2 separate regions of the Homo sapiens genome follow, and region 2 is linked to region 1. Evidence: promoter capture Hi-C in 16 types of primary human blood cells and fetal thymus (Javierre and others, 2016). All regions are on one chromosome and are shown on one strand. Each heading gives the region's core, a stretch centred on a gene start or on the middle of the fragment in contact. The rest is flanking DNA. Distances are from core to core; before and after follow the strand shown. Region 1 holds the start of ACTL7B (actin like 7B). Region 2 overlaps PTPN3 (protein tyrosine phosphatase non-receptor type 3).

The links. Contacts are between HindIII fragments. The CHiCAGO score rates a contact against its expected background, and 5 or more counts as called.
Region 2: a contact is called between a fragment that was not itself captured here and the fragment with the promoter of ACTL7B in region 1, in 1 of 17 cell types (endothelial precursors). The highest score is 5.1, in endothelial precursors.

The regions. Positions count from the first base shown.
Region 1 is chr9:108,853,488-108,861,037 of GRCh38, reverse strand. ACTL7B (actin like 7B) reads left to right here and starts at 5,052. Exons shown (of 1, transcript NM_006686.4): 1 at 5,052-6,450. The coding sequence starts at 5,108. The coding sequence ends at 6,355. The HindIII fragment of the contact is 8,235 bases long and covers 1,307-7,550 here.
Region 2 is chr9:109,408,358-109,416,112 of GRCh38, reverse strand. It overlaps PTPN3 (protein tyrosine phosphatase non-receptor type 3), which reads left to right. Exons shown (of 26, transcript NM_002829.4): 15 at 5,698-5,884; 16 at 6,037-6,114; 17 at 7,736-7,755. Among named protein-coding and RNA genes, the nearest start is that of PTPN3, 86 kb to the left of the region's middle. RefSeq lists enhancers at 1-99, 4,159-4,258, 4,779-4,898. The HindIII fragment of the contact is 1,219 bases long and covers 4,102-5,320 here.

The DNA of each region.
Region 1 (7,550 bases), core at 3,803-6,302:
ACTCAGGGCAGAATCCAACCTTATGTTATGCCACACCCTGAACCTGATCCCAGCCCTTCATAAAAGAGGCAGTCACCACAATAATGGGCTTTCTCCTTTAGAGAGGCTACGGGAGTTGCTCTCAGTTCCTTGTTGGGTATGAGAGAAGAAAAGGACCAAGTCCAGTCTCATGAGGTTTGTGGTGACTATCTGATGGGGGCAGCAAGGTGTCATCCCAAGGACAAAATCTCAGTTTCTTGCTTCATTGGTTAGTGGGTGAGATAATAGCATGGAATTTTAAAGGAAAAATAGGAAAGTACTTTTGATGCCTGGCTGCCTGAAAAACAGTTTAATTGCCTCTGCCGTTCAGGGATTTGCGTGGGCAACTCAGATTGTTTGACTTTATTTCAAAAGTGCTGTATATGGTAACCAAAGGCATATGTAATTTAAAACCCTCCATTTTTTTCTTCCCAAACCCTACTTGAATGTTGCGAAATCTATAGCTGCTTGGTGCCTTTTCACTAACCTGGACTCCTAGAAGAGCCTGTATTAGCTTCCTGTTTCTGCTGTAACAAATTACCATGGATTTAGTGGCTTAAAGCAATTCACAGTTATTATCTTACTATTTTGGAGGTCAGAAGTTCGTAATTCTTCTTAGTGGGCTACAATTAAGGTTCTTTCAGGGCTGTATTCCTTCTGGAGGTGTAGGAGACAATACTTCCTCTTGCCTCCAGCTCCTAGAGGCCACCTGTGTTCCTTGGCTCATAGTCCCTTCCTCCATCTTGGAAGACTCTCAGACTAGAGCTGTCATTGTCACATCTGCTTCTCTGCCCTTGACCCTCCTGTATCCCCCATATAAGGACCCTTGTGATTACATTGGCCCCACCCAGGCCATACAGGATACTCTCCCCATCTCAGATTCCTTCATTTAATCACATCCACAGAATCCCTTTTGGCATGAAAGTTAATATAGTCACAGGTCCCAGGGATTAAGATGTGGACACCTTTGGAGGACCCTTTCACCTGTTCAGTGCCTCCCTCTTTGCTAATACACTCCAAGCCTGACATGCTCTGACTCATTTGCTCTTCGTGGGCTGCCCAGGCTTGCCCATCTGTCATCTGTCATCACACTTTCTGCATTTGTGTGTGGAAGAGGTGATGCTTTAGTGTAAGGCAGTCACTCTATCTAGTCTGTAAGGTCCTTGAGCATAGGGATTCCCCTCACATTCTCTGAGCAAAAGCCAATGAAACACTTGCCCTCCTTTTACTTCACCACTGAGTTTCACATGTTGGGTGCTCCTAATAAAAACCCTGTTTCCCCTAAGCTTCCTGTTACCCTCTGTGCCTCTTCTCTCCCTCTATGGGTCATCACACGGTTAGTGGTAATGATGGAAGAATGCAGAGACTGTGGACACCGTGCCCCAAACCTCCACTGCCTAGCACACACACCCCCCATAATTGTCACCAGCTAAGGTCTGTGTGGGCCCTCTGGGGTCCCTAGTGAGGTCCCTCTTGGGAGAGGCACCCTATAGTGCTCAAAATATATTGGGCCACATTTTCTAATGGGATCACACCTACTTTTAGCCCTCTGGCTCAAGACCAAAAAAACCATGGGATGACCCCTTTTCAAATGCAACCCTGGGATCCTCTTCTATAGTGGAGGGAGAGAACATGGAAAGGTGAGATTAAAGAACACACTTCTGCCTGAGGTGCATCCTGGCTCCTGGCTTCAGTTTTGGGACACTGCCCACCCTTGACCTTTGGAGGAGAGGTGAGCCAGGCCTCTGGAATTTTAGCAGCAATGGGAGGGAAAAAAAGAAAATCCAGCATGGCATTTCTTCTCATGAATCACCTGGAGTTTTTCTTAAAAATTACTGGAGCCCACCACAGCCTTTCCAACTCTTGAATATGCTGGAGAACCCCTGAGTCAGGAGCTCCCAACAAAGAAGATCCTTGCCAAACAGGCACTTTGAGCTGCTTTCTCACAGCTCAGATCCCAGTGTGGACACCCAGGTCCCAAGACTGTGTCCATTTCCCCGAGGTGGAAGGGAGAGGAGCTGTCTTCAGGGGCAGATGTGCTACTGAGCATGCAAATGTGGATCCGGATGCTTCCCTTTCCATGTGCTCCAGCCCAGTGTCCCACAGCCTAGTGACCTTTGGGCATCTCTAAGTCAGCAGACCCCAAATGTGAGTGTGTGTGTGTGTGTGTGTGTGTGTGTGTGTATGTGTGTGTGTCACCATCATCCACTTAGCAGCTCAAGGCAGAGACCTGGAGGCTGTGGGTAGGGGTCAAGTTGACGAGGGGACATAGCAAAATGGTAATCACATTCAAACAACATTTCAAGTAGTTTACCCAAAGTCATACAGATTATAAATAATAAGTCTATGTTTGAACCCAGGTCTTCGGAATCCAGTTCCTCAGTCTTCCATCTGCTCTGTACTGCCTTTCTGTAAGGAATGGATAAAAAGTAGGCTCTGGCAGTCCATGAATACTGCCTTTAAATAGCCTAAGAGTTGTCGTGGAAGAATTTGCTTGCCCCGTAGAACTTCAAGAGTAGACCCAAGACCATTTAATGGCTTCAGAGAGGTACACATGCCAATCCAGTGTGACGAAACGTTTATCACTCATGGCTGGCCAAAATAGGGTGAGCTGTCCATGTCAGACTACTGGATGGAATGTTCTAGAAGGAACTGAAGGGTCCAATCCTCAGCTTCTGTGATTTCATGATCCCACCACAGGGCATTTCTGGGTCATGATGTTCATAATTATAACCCTTAGAAAGTTGTTACCCAAATAATATAGTTGAATGCTGCCATGTTCCAAGAAACAATTCAGCGGGCTGGGCATGGTGGCTCACACCTGTAATCCCAGCACTTTGGGAGGCCAAGGCGGGCGGATCACGAGATCAGGAGTTCAATGTCAGCCTGGCCAACATGGTGAAACCCCGTCTCTACCAAAAATACAAAAATTAGCCAGGCGTGGTAGCAGGTGCCTGTAATCCCAGCTACTGGGGAGGCTGAGGCAGGAGAATCGCTTGAAACTGGAAGGCGGAGGTTGCAGTGAGCTGAGATCGCGCCACTGCACTCCAGACTGGGCGAAAGAGCGAAACTCTGTCTCAGAAACAAACAAACAAACAAAAATTTGGCAAACAAAAATCCCCACACATTCCTCATTAGCATTCTTACATGCTCCATGGCAGTATTTCTTAACTCTTTTTCCCCCATGCATGTTGCCTAATCAATTCCTCAGGCACCTCTGCTCATCTTAATTCTCCCAGAAAACTTCCTCAGGCCCAGTTGCCGCTCTTCCCCTTTTTCTGTTGACTCTTCACCACCAAAGCCCTAAACTGCCTTTTTGATTTTTGGAGTGGGAGGGGGCAGCTTAAGTTGCAGGTCCCTCTGGCACTCTCGTGAATTTGTCCTTTCTGGATGACAGGCCATCTTTCTTTGCCCGGGTACAAGTAAGCGATTCATCCTTCCCTCTGCCTCACATCCCACATCACAGGAGCCCATGAGGGAAGCCCTGAAATGTCAGAGTAAGAGCTTGGATTAAAGTGAGGGATGGTTGGGGAAAAAACAGATTGGATTCTATTCTACTTTCTAAGTTTCTCTAGAACTAGGCTCTTCCTTGTTTCCACACTCTCACAGCCCTAGGTCAGGCCACCTTCAAGTCTTATCAGAAGTTCTCCAATGGCCTCGTTTCGGGTCTCAGTTTCTAGTCTTGCCCCTCCCATCCATTCTCTACATTACAGCCCAATGCAGATCTTTCTAACATTTTTATTTTTCTTTTCTTTTTTTTTGAGATGGAGTCTCACTCTGTCTCCCAGGCTGGAGTGCAGTGGTGCGATCTCAGCTCACTGCAACCTTTGCCTCCCAGGTTGAAGCAATTCTCTGCCTCAGCCCCCCAAGTAGCTGGGATTACAGGCACCCGCCACCATGCCCAGCTAATTTTTGTATTTTTAGTAGAGATGGGGTTTCACCATCTTGGCCAGGCTGGTCTTGAACTCCTGACCTCATGATCCACCTGCCTCAGCCTCCCAAAGTGCTGGTGGGATTACAGGCATGAGCCACCACGCCCGGCCCTTTCTAACATTTTTCTAGAGGGCAAATCTGATCATTCCCCTGCTTAAAGTCTTCATAGCTTCCCTGGCTCTCCTCAGTTTAGTCTAAACCTACTCCTGCCATTTGATGCCCTTTCTATTTGGCTCTGTGACTTCTCTAGCTTCATCTGTTTTTCCAAACACTTTGACTGTGGGAAGTTCTTCACCGTGCCTCCATTTGAGCCTTTGCTCAAGCTGTGCTCTCTGCCTGGGATGTCTTCCCCTCCTCTTAACTACTTGACAAATACCTACACCTCTTCCAGGATTCAACTTAAGCATCACCTCCTCTCTAGAGCACCTTCTGACTGCCTGTCTCAAATGAGTTCTCCAAGTAGACTTCTTCCTGCAAACCCATCGGCACCCATTCCATTTTCTTGTCTAGACTGGGCACTGCTGGTGGCCTGGGTTTTTAATCATCTATCACTGGCAGGCTGCACTGGGCGGGACCTACTATATACTCCAGTAAATGTGGAGTGAAGGGAGGAAAGAACTCTTGGGGCGGTTAAGGAGGCCTGGTGCATTGGAGTTTGATGAATTTGGGTTAAGGTACAAACACCCCAAGTGCTGTTTGCTCTTGGGCAAGTCCTTAGAATTCTGAGCCTCATTTCCTCAGCTCTGCCTACCTGCAGAACAACATAAGTGAAGTAACTAGTACAGTGCCTGCCTTACTGGAGGGGCTCAAATAGGCCCTCTCCACCAAGAAGCAGAAGAGGAAAGGTGTCCAGTAGTGAACAGGTTAGGCATGGAAATGCAAGGGGGCTGAGCAGAAACCTCTGAGACCCTAGTGTGCTTGGATTTCTAAAACTGCCGGCCACCTGCTCTGTCCGGGAGCAAACTTGAGTTAGAGAGGTGGGGGTGACACACCAAGAACCGACCAAAGCCAGGCCCTCCCCTGCTGCCTGAATGGACCAGCCCCGAGTGACATCACAATCCCGGGTGGTTGTCATGGCACTGCTGGAGGTGGGGGATCTCATTTCTCCCCAGGGGGCTCTAGGCTGTGGATGTGAGAAGGGGAGCAAGGGAGGCAGATGGCGACAAGGAACAGCCCCATGCCCCTGGGCACGGCTCAGGGTGACCCTGGAGAGGCAGGAACACGGCCCGGCCCTGACGCCAGCCTCCGGGACACAGGTGCGGCCACTCAGCTCAAGATGAAGCCCAGGAAGGTGCACAAGATCAAGGCGGTCATCATCGACCTGGGCTCCCAGTACTGCAAGTGCGGCTACGCGGGAGAGCCGAGGCCCACCTACTTCATCTCCTCCACCGTGGGCAAACGCTGCCCCGAGGCGGCCGACGCTGGCGACACCCGCAAGTGGACTTTAGTGGGCCATGAGCTGCTCAACACGGAGGCGCCTCTCAAGCTGGTGAACCCGCTGAAGCACGGCATCGTGGTGGACTGGGACTGCGTGCAGGACATCTGGGAGTACATCTTCCGCACCGCCATGAAGATCCTCCCCGAGGAGCACGCTGTGCTGGTCTCCGACCCTCCGCTCAGCCCCAGCAGCAACCGGGAGAAGTACGCGGAGCTCATGTTTGAGACCTTCGGCATCCCAGCCATGCACGTGACGTCCCAGTCGTTGCTGTCCATCTACTCCTACGGCAAGACCTCGGGGCTGGTGGTGGAGAGCGGGCACGGCGTCTCGCACGTGGTGCCCATATCCGAGGGCGACGTGCTGCCGGGCCTGACCAGCCGCGCCGACTACGCTGGGGGTGACCTCACCAACTACCTGATGCAGCTGCTCAATGAGGCGGGCCACGCATTCACGGACGACCACCTGCACATCATAGAGCACATCAAGAAGAAGTGCTGCTATGCGGCCTTCCTGCCCGAGGAGGAGCTGGGCCTGGTCCCGGAGGAGCTGCGCGTGGACTACGAGCTCCCGGACGGCAAACTCATCACTATTGGCCAGGAGCGCTTCCGTTGCTCTGAGATGCTCTTCCAGCCCTCCCTGGCAGGCAGCACCCAGCCGGGCCTCCCGGAGCTCACAGCTGCCTGCCTGGGCCGCTGCCAGGACACGGGCTTCAAGGAGGAGATGGCCGCCAACGTGCTACTGTGTGGCGGCTGCACTATGCTGGATGGCTTCCCCGAGCGCTTCCAGAGGGAGCTGAGCCTCCTCTGCCCCGGGGACAGCCCTGCAGTGGCTGCCGCTCCTGAGAGGAAGACCTCCGTGTGGACCGGCGGTTCCATCCTGGCCTCCCTGCAGGCCTTCCAACAGCTCTGGGTCAGCAAGGAAGAGTTTGAGGAGCGGGGCAGCGTGGCCATCTACAGCAAGTGCTGAGCCTCGGCATTTCCACAGACAAGGCCTCCAGCACAGATGGCCACAGGCCTCTCTATACACATTTACAGAATTTCACATAAAGGTTTACTCTGAAATGGCTCTTGTCTAGTCTGGGTTTCTTGCTTCTATCTGATAGCAGAGGGTAGGGGGGAGTCGGGCTTAGAAGCGGCAGCACCTTTTGCACTGGAGGTGGGGGCTGTAAGGAAGGGGGCTACCATACTGATCCCACCCCCTCTGCCTGCCTCATGATAGTGACATCATCTCAGGGCCTAGAAAGTGGCCTCCTGTTTTATTAGTACCTCCAGGTTCAAAACCTGATCCAAAGACACTCCTCATCGCTGGCTCAACTAAGGGGGTTGGCTCTGATGAAGGGACTAGCTTGGGTCACCTAGCGGTAGGTTGGAGGAGATGCACAGCTGGGTGTCCGACTCCAGTCTCCTGTTTCTGCTGTTCACAAGTGCTCCCAACCTTAACACTGCCTGATCACTCCAGGTTCCCTAACCTCCCCCTAGTGCCTGCCACCCTCAATATGGGAGCCTAAGGCTGTGCCAGTGCATCTCCAGAGTGTGAAGTGCCATTTCAACCCATCTGTGGGCGTACCCCTTTCAACCACAGCCAAAATTGCAGCTATTTTTCCAGAGTCACAAAGCAGAGCCACTGATTCCAGAGGATGTCAGAGGAACCAGAAGGTCCTTTAGAAATCGGGTCCTCTCCCGGCTATAGAGATGGGGAAACTGGGCTGGGTGCGGTGGCTCACACCTGTAATCCCAGCACTCTGGGAACCCGAGGCAGGTGGATCACCTAAGGTCAGGAGTTCGAGACCAGCCTGGCTAACATGGTGAAACCCTGTCTCTACTAAAAATACAAAAATTAGCTGGACATGGTGGTGGGTACCTGTAATCCCAGCTTCCCCAGGAGGCTGAGCAGGGAGAATCATTTGACCCCAGGAGGCGGAGGTTGCAGTGAGCTGAGGTTGCGTCATTGCACTACAGCCTGAGCAACAGAGCAAGACTCCATGTCCAAAAAGAAAAAAAAAAAAGAGAGATAGGTAAACTGAGACCAGAGAGGAGAGAGCCAGCTTAATGCCAGTGGTTGAGCCCAGGTCTCCTGATCCACATCAGGATTATTCCCATAAGGGTATAAACATGGTTCTTAATGGTTAGTCAGCAACCCAAAGCACTTACCATGCATGTAC
Region 2 (7,755 bases), core at 3,462-5,961, 560 kb before region 1:
CCCATCACCCTCGTAACCACCATTCTCCAAGTGCAAATGAGCCTTCTAGAGGGTGGCACTAGATCTGAATGTGGAGGAAGGATCTGCATACCATTCTACATGTCCCCCTCGGAGGACACCAGGCAGGGACAGGGTTTTGTTCAGAGTGTTTGTGTCCCTTTTCCTTGAACCTTGCCTTCTTGTTTGAGTCCACTTGCGTGTAGATGTCTCTCAGATACCTGAAACCCAATATGATCCAATCTCAGCTCCTCATGTTGGTGTCCAGCCCATGGCTGTTCCTGTGTCTTGGTAAGGGGGGCCATTGTTTCAGTACTTCCCAGTTTGCACCTATTTGAAACATCAGTCGTCCCTCACTCCTCCTTTTCTTTCACTGTCCCTATGCCATTTCTCATCGTGTTGATTCTACCTCCCAGACATCTCTTACATTTGACTCCTCCACCATCCCCACTGCACTGCCCCCATGCAGCCACCATCGTCTCTTGCACAGTCTAGCTCAGTCATATCCAAATCGTTCCCCTGTCTTTGGTGTCACCTCCTTCCACACCATGCTTCACAAGAATAGCAAATTTATCATTCTGAAATACACATCCAAGAATGTCACTTCCTGCTTAAATACCTTTTCTCTGCTTTTTCAGCATTTCCTGCCTTTACCTGTGCTACTGCTTTTGTTTGTGTGTTTGTTATTATCAGTGTTTTGCCAGAATGCCTTTTTTCCCACTTGACTACCTGTTCAAACTCCTATTAATTCATCTTTCAAACTCAAGCTCAAGTGCACCTGCTCCAGGAAGCCTCTCCTGGCCTTACACAGTACCCTAGACATCTGAGCATCTCCACTGTAACATGATAATATTATTACTTGGTTAATTGTATTTCTTCTCCTTTGGACAGTGAATTCTTTGAGGGCAGGGATAGTGCCCTATTCACCTCTCCTTCCTTAAAACCTGACATGGTTATTTGGCATTTAATAGACATTCAGTGACTATTTGGATGGATGGATGGATGGATGGATGGATGGATGGATGGATGGATGGATGGTTGGATGGACGGACGGATGGACGGATGGACGGACGGACGGACGGACAGACGGACAAATGGTTAGATGAAACTAGATGGGGCCCCGAGATACAAACTCCTAAGTTTTCACAATGGGATGCCCCCTCTGCCACTTCCACATCATGTGTCCATATCACATGAGCAACATCACACCATATTTATCTGTACCCCAAGAACTCAAACATATTTACTTTGACAAGTTTGGTAACTGTCACCTGTGAGCAGGACTATGTGGTAGGTGCCCCTGCAGGGCATCTGTCAATGAGAAATTCTCCTCAGAGAATTCAGGGATGAATTGACCGAGGTTTAGCAAGTGCTTTCTTGCCAGTGAGGTGTCTGATATCTATAGGGGAAGCCTAGACAGATTCATGATCTGTTGTTCCAGCAGGAAAGACTGTGAGCTCATAAAGCACCATACCTGAACCATATCCCCTCTGCCACTTTGATCTTGTGCCCTTGGCATTTATTACAGCCCCAGATGAGCTGTTTCCTGTGGTGACTGTCTCCACATCATAAAAATGTGTATTGGAAGACAGTCTTCTTTCTGTTACTCAAGGACCCTTATGTGAGGAGCCATGTGGGAAATTTCTCCAGGAATTTTATTCAGAAGAAACTGTGCCCTCTGGGTGAACTGGTATGAGTTCCTCTAGCGCCGTGCTATTCCAGCTGTGGCCACAGGCCAGCAGCTGCAGCACCTGAGAGCTGGTCGGAATGCAGAATCTCAGACCCACACAGGCCTGCCGAATCATACTCTGCATTCAGCAGGACCCCAGCTGGTTCCTGTGCACAGCACATTCTCAGAAGCTCTGATCTTGCAGATGAGAACCATTTAACTCGCCTTCACTTTGCACCTGAGCTTCCAGATTCCTGAGTAAATTCCTTGCTCTTTTAGAGTAACTCACCCAATCACCTCGGGTGATCCTCTTGGTACCTTGCCAAGAGGCTTTATTCTTCATTCACTCAGCATTTCAGTTGAGTACTCCCTGTGTGCCTGGTCCTGTGTTCCGAGTACTAGGAGAGGAACAGAAAGAGCACTAGGGTCTCCTGACCTTGAGAAGCTCCCAAAACAGGGCCCCTGTTCCATCACACCACAATTTGAGAGCAGGACTTTGCCTCCTTTCACAGGCGGCGGGGCGGGGAGGTCTTTAATTTTCTAGGGTTTAGGGAGAGCTTCGTGCGGGAGTGTCTCTTTCATGGGAGTGTTTCTTTCTGATGCCTGCTGCCTTTACAGTTCAGAAGCATGTGTTTTCTGGAGGGTGAATACTTGTTTGTCTGCCTGATGGTCAGTCTGTGTCTCACATTTCTCTGTCTCTGCCCCTTTCTCCCTAAGAACCAGGATGTGGTCAGTCCCACACTGGCTCTTCCATGGTGTCTTCCCCGTCCTGCCTCAGGGACAAACCTCTTCTGCTCCTTCCTCCCCCTTGTCATTGGCTCCATCCCATCCTCACCATCTTCTTGCATCCCTCATCCTGCCCCTTTCTTCACTCCACTTGTGGAATTCATGGGGCAACTCCCCTGCGCTCCTCAGCCGCACTGCATTCTGCCCAGCGACAGAGGAGGCACTAGGGCTTTGGTGCCTTCACCCCTGGCCACCCTGTGCTGTGGCCAGCTGCCACTTACTCATTGCATCTCCTCATTTGATGTCCTCTTCCTCGTCTGTCTGTCCATCTTGCACACTGAACAGAATATCACCGCGCCCTACAGAGCACCTGTGTACACAGTTGAGCAGGCCAAAAATCAGCCATTTGTTGAAATAAATGACTAAGAGTAACCCCTCCAACCCTGCTTAGAAAATAGGTTAGGGCAGGCCGGGCACGGTGGCTCATGCCTGTAATCCCAGCACTTTGGGAGGCCGAGGCGGGCAGATCACAAGGTCAAGAGATCGAGACCATCCTGACTAACATGGTGAAACCCCATCTCTACTAAAAATACAAAAAAAAAAAAAATTAGCCAGGCATTGGTGGCAGGTGCTTGTAGTCCCAGCTACATGGGAGACTGAGGCAGGAGAATGGTGTGAACCTGGCAGGTGGAGCTTGAGCTTGCAATGAGCTGAGACTGTGCCACTGCACTCCAGCCTGGGCGACAGGGCAAGACTCTGTCTCAAAAAAAAAAAAAAATAGGTTAGGGCATAAAATGACTTGGAATATAGTATTAGTACTAGCAGCAATAGTAATAGTAGTAGTACTGTTGTCATTTAGTACCATGGGCTAGTTTAGACAGACCATTGAGTTTTAAATCAAAAAAGAAAAATAGGGCTGGGGATGGTGGCTCACACCTGTAATCCCAGCGCTTAGGGAGGCCAGTGCAGGAGGATTGCTTGAGACCATGAGTTCTAGACCAGCCTAGGCAGCATAGTGAGACCCTGTGTCTACAAAAAATTTTTAAAAGGCTGGGCATGGTGGCTCACACCTGTAATCCCAGCACTTTGGGAGGCCGAGGCAGGTGGATCACGAGGTCAAGAGATCGAGACTATCTTGGCCAACATGGTGAAACCCTGTCTCTACTAAAAATATAAAAAATTAGCCGGGTGTGGTGGCGGGCACCTGTAGTCCCAGTTACTCAGGAGGCTGAGGTTGGAGAATCATTTGAACCCGGGAGGCGGAGGTTGCAGTGAGCCGAGATTGCACCACTGCATTCCAGCCTAGCAACAGAGCGAGACTTTGACTCAAAAAAAAAAAAAAATTAAAATTAGTTGGACATGGCGAATGCCTGTGGTCCCAGCTACTCAAGAGACCAAGATAGGAAGATCTCTTGAGTCAGGAAATCGAGGCTGCAGTGAGCTGTGGTCATGTAATGGCACTCCAGCCTGGGCAACAGAGCTTTACCCTACCTCAAAAGAAAAAAAAATGGATTGGGGGGGTGCAGGGAGGGAGAGAGAGGGAGACAGAGGTAGAGACAGAGACAGAGACAGACAGAACGAGAACTGGAAATACCATTTTAACTTGTTTTGTAACTGCCAAGCAGTTGCCCTTTCTGCCACTGGGTGATGCTCTTGTAAACAGTGAAACCCAGCAAAGATGCCGTATTTGGGGGGAATTTTGTAAAGCTTCCTTTTACGTAAGTGAAAGTCATGCTTTTTCAATCTGAAAACTTGTATACAACTTCAATTCCAAAATACTCTGTCTCTGAAATGCCTTCCCATCCATAACACCCTACCCCCAACCAGCCACTTGGACACCATAAGGCCAGACTCTTGTCCTACTGTATCGCTGTGTTTCTCCATTGGTCTGTCACTGAATATTTTATTCAAATAGATTGTGATTATGAATCATTCTGTGTGACTATGATACAGATTTTATATTTAAATTAGGCTCATTTAAACTCACTAGGAGAAAGAGAAGCACCAATTTCATAAAAAATCCATGGATAAGGGCTTGAAATGAAGGTCAAGAAAGAGGCAGTAGCAGCTGTCTTTTGTCTGGGTTTCACTGAATGACTTGGTCTCTGCGCTTCTCCCCTCACTTCACTTTGGATGAGGTTAGGGTGGGGCAGAGTCTTAGAATGTAGGAGAGCCCCATAGTCATCAGCTCTGTAAGGTGTCTGTGCTGGGCCTGTGGCTCCGGAAGGGGCTGGTGTGGGTGATGCAGAGACTCAAGGGTCCTGTCCTGTACAGTGACAGCAGGGATGGTTAATCCCTGTGACTCTGAGGGGTTAGAAATAGGGGTCTTGGAAGTGGGCTCTGCATGGTCTGGAGAGGGAAGAAAGGCTTAGGACGCACATCGGTCAGGTTTCTGTCTGCTAAGCCGGGGGAAAGCCATGTGACCCTGGGCAAGTTACTCAGCCTCTCCTGACCTCAGCTTCTTCATCTGTGAACTGGGAGTTAGAACAAATGACCACAAAGTTCTGTTCCGTTTTCATCATCTGTAACTCTCTAAGACAGCGCTGTCCAGCAGGACTTCCTGCCGTGGTGAAATGTTCTCTGACTGCACTGTCTCATACGGGAGCCACTGGCCGCATATGGCTAGTGAGCATGTGAAGTATGGCTGGTTTCTTGTCTTAATTTATTTAAATTTAAGTAGCCACATATAACTAGTGGCTACCATACTAGACAGTGCAGCTCCACGATACAGAAGAAACTATATTCGATAGAGGAAAATGTAACAAGATCTCAGCGTGGCAGTTCATGGATGTCACAGGCAAATCATGCCAACTAGGAATAATATAAATTCTCCTGAACGCACAACAACAACAGTCCTGTTTCCTTTGAGGAGGCAAGAGTCCTATGAAGCAGAACCATCCGCAGAAGTGAGACAGAAGGAAAAAAGCTTTCAGAAGGGATGGGCTGTGCATCTGCATGAGCTTGCCTGGCAGAGCCTGGTTCAGTAATGAAACCACCAGAGGAGCTGGACACATTTCCCTGTCACCCTTCTAAAGCAGCGGGGAAGGGAGCAAAGTTTTCAGCAGTTTCCAGATCCACCCTGCCTCCTATCCCTTTTCCCCAAAACCATGTGACAGTGTCTAGGCCAGATGCGGTCAGGGGTGGTCAGTGGGCCCTGGGTGTACTCAAATCCCGCTGACAACCTATGCAGCTGAGGTTCCAGGGAAACATACAGCCCCCAGCTGCCAGGCCCCTACAGTCAGTAGTGTTTGCTCTAATAAAATATTAACCCAGTTATTAATATCTCCTCCTTCCCCATGATGAAGGAGTTTATCCGAGAACAATCCGGCACAAAGCTACCTGACCCAGAAGTCATCCAGTTCTGTGTCTCCATCTTCAAATGCTCCAGGCTCCTGCTCACCTGACGGCGTTGATCAGCAGCTCTTAGATGACTTCCACAGGGTGACCAAAGGGGGCTCCACCGAGGACGCCAGCCAGTACTACTGTGACAAGGTGAGCGAGCGCAGGCAGCCGGGTGATCCACACACCCAGGGCTTCCCGGCCTCTTGTGGGCAGCTGAGTAGCTCTAACTAAATGAAAATATCTTATCACCAACTGCTGGAGAGAGATGTGATGCAAATGACCACTTTCAAACCGTTTTCCAGAATGATAATGGTGACAGCTACTTAGTCTTGATCCGTATCACACCAGATGAAGATGGAAAATTTGGATTTAATCTTAAGGTATGTTGTGTATTTATAAAGGAAGTTTTGTGCTGGGAAGCAATCTTTCAATGAGTTTTTAATTTGCATTACAAATGTGCTGCATTCCTGAGCTACATAAGGAAGTTGGTTCAACCCTCAGAATTGAGAGTTGGGGGTTTTTTTTGTTTTTGTTTGGTTTGAGATATTTGGGGTTTTTTTTGTTTTTTTTTAAAAACTCACTTTATCGCCCAAACCTAGAGTGCAGTGGCACGATCGCAGCTCACTGCAGCGCTGACCTCCCCAGGCTCAGGTGATCCTCCCACCTCAGCTGGGACTATAGGGATGCACCACCATACCCAGCTAATTTTTTTCATATTTTTTGTAGAGATGGGGTTTCACCATGTTGTCCAAGCTGGTCTCAAACACCTGGCAATCTACTCACTTTGGCCTCCCAAAGTGCCGGGATTACAGGCGTGAACCACCGCACCCAGCCTAGAATTGAGAGGTTTTTTTTAATGTGGCCTTAACAGCTGCCGAAGGCCAAGTGCCTGCTCTGTGCCTGGCATTGGCTATCCACTAGATTCATAGCACCTTCTTAAGTTCTGATAACAAGTGGTAAGGTCAGTATTTTTAAACCCATTTTGCAAATGAATACTGAGGTTCCCAGAAATGAGGGCACACAGTTGGCAAACAGATCTACCCACTTCAGGAATGCTATTAAGAGAACCCCTCAGCATTGCTAAAGCTGATAAGAGAAAAACAATTCAAGTTCAACCTGCAGGGCCACCACTCTCCTCCAGGCACCTTTAAGCAGGATCTGCAAACTAAACCCACAGGCCAAATCCCATCTGTTTCTGTAACTAGTTTTTTTGGTAACAGCCACAGCCATTTGTTTACTGGTGGGTTAATGACTGCAGAGTTGAGCAGTTGAATCAGAGCCCTCACTCCCACAAAGCCTCTCTGGCCCTTTACAGAAAACGTTTACTCATCCCTACTCTAGGACAAAGTGAGGGCAGGTGGTCGCCTACCCCCCAGCTGCCATCATGCACAGCCTCATCTGCCCCAGCAGCTGTGTTGAGGACCAGCGCTCACAGGCCAGATGCGCTCACAGGGTGTGCCCCCTTCCCAGGCCTCGCTCGCCTCTGCTGAAAGCCCCTATATATATATATATAAAGCCCATATATATATATATTAAAGCCCATATATATATATAAAGCCCATATATATATATATATATATATTTTTTTTTTTTTTTTAATTATTATAAGTTCTAGGGTACATGTGCACAACGTGCAGGTTTGTTCTAGCAGCACTCGAAGACATGCTGTGGAGTCCCTCTCTGGGGGCATCTGCGTTTTTAAGGAGGAGCTTCTCTCTGAGTGTATCTGTTAGTTCATGGACTGTGGGGATGGCAGAGGGAGGCTTCTGAACAGAGTCCTGGTCAGCCCGCTGGATCCAGAGGGGTCAGGAATTTGTTCCATATTTCTGAAATGACGTGTGATTCGAATCAGTCATAGTGAAGTTTGAAGCCTCCCTGTACCAAAGACTCACATTTATTGGTACCTCCATGTTGTTGATGCTGTGAGCTACTCGTTTTTTTGTTTGTTTGTTTGTTTAACTTAAAAAACTTTGTTTTGTTTTTATTTTAAAATGTTTACAGGGAGGAGTGGATCAAAAGAT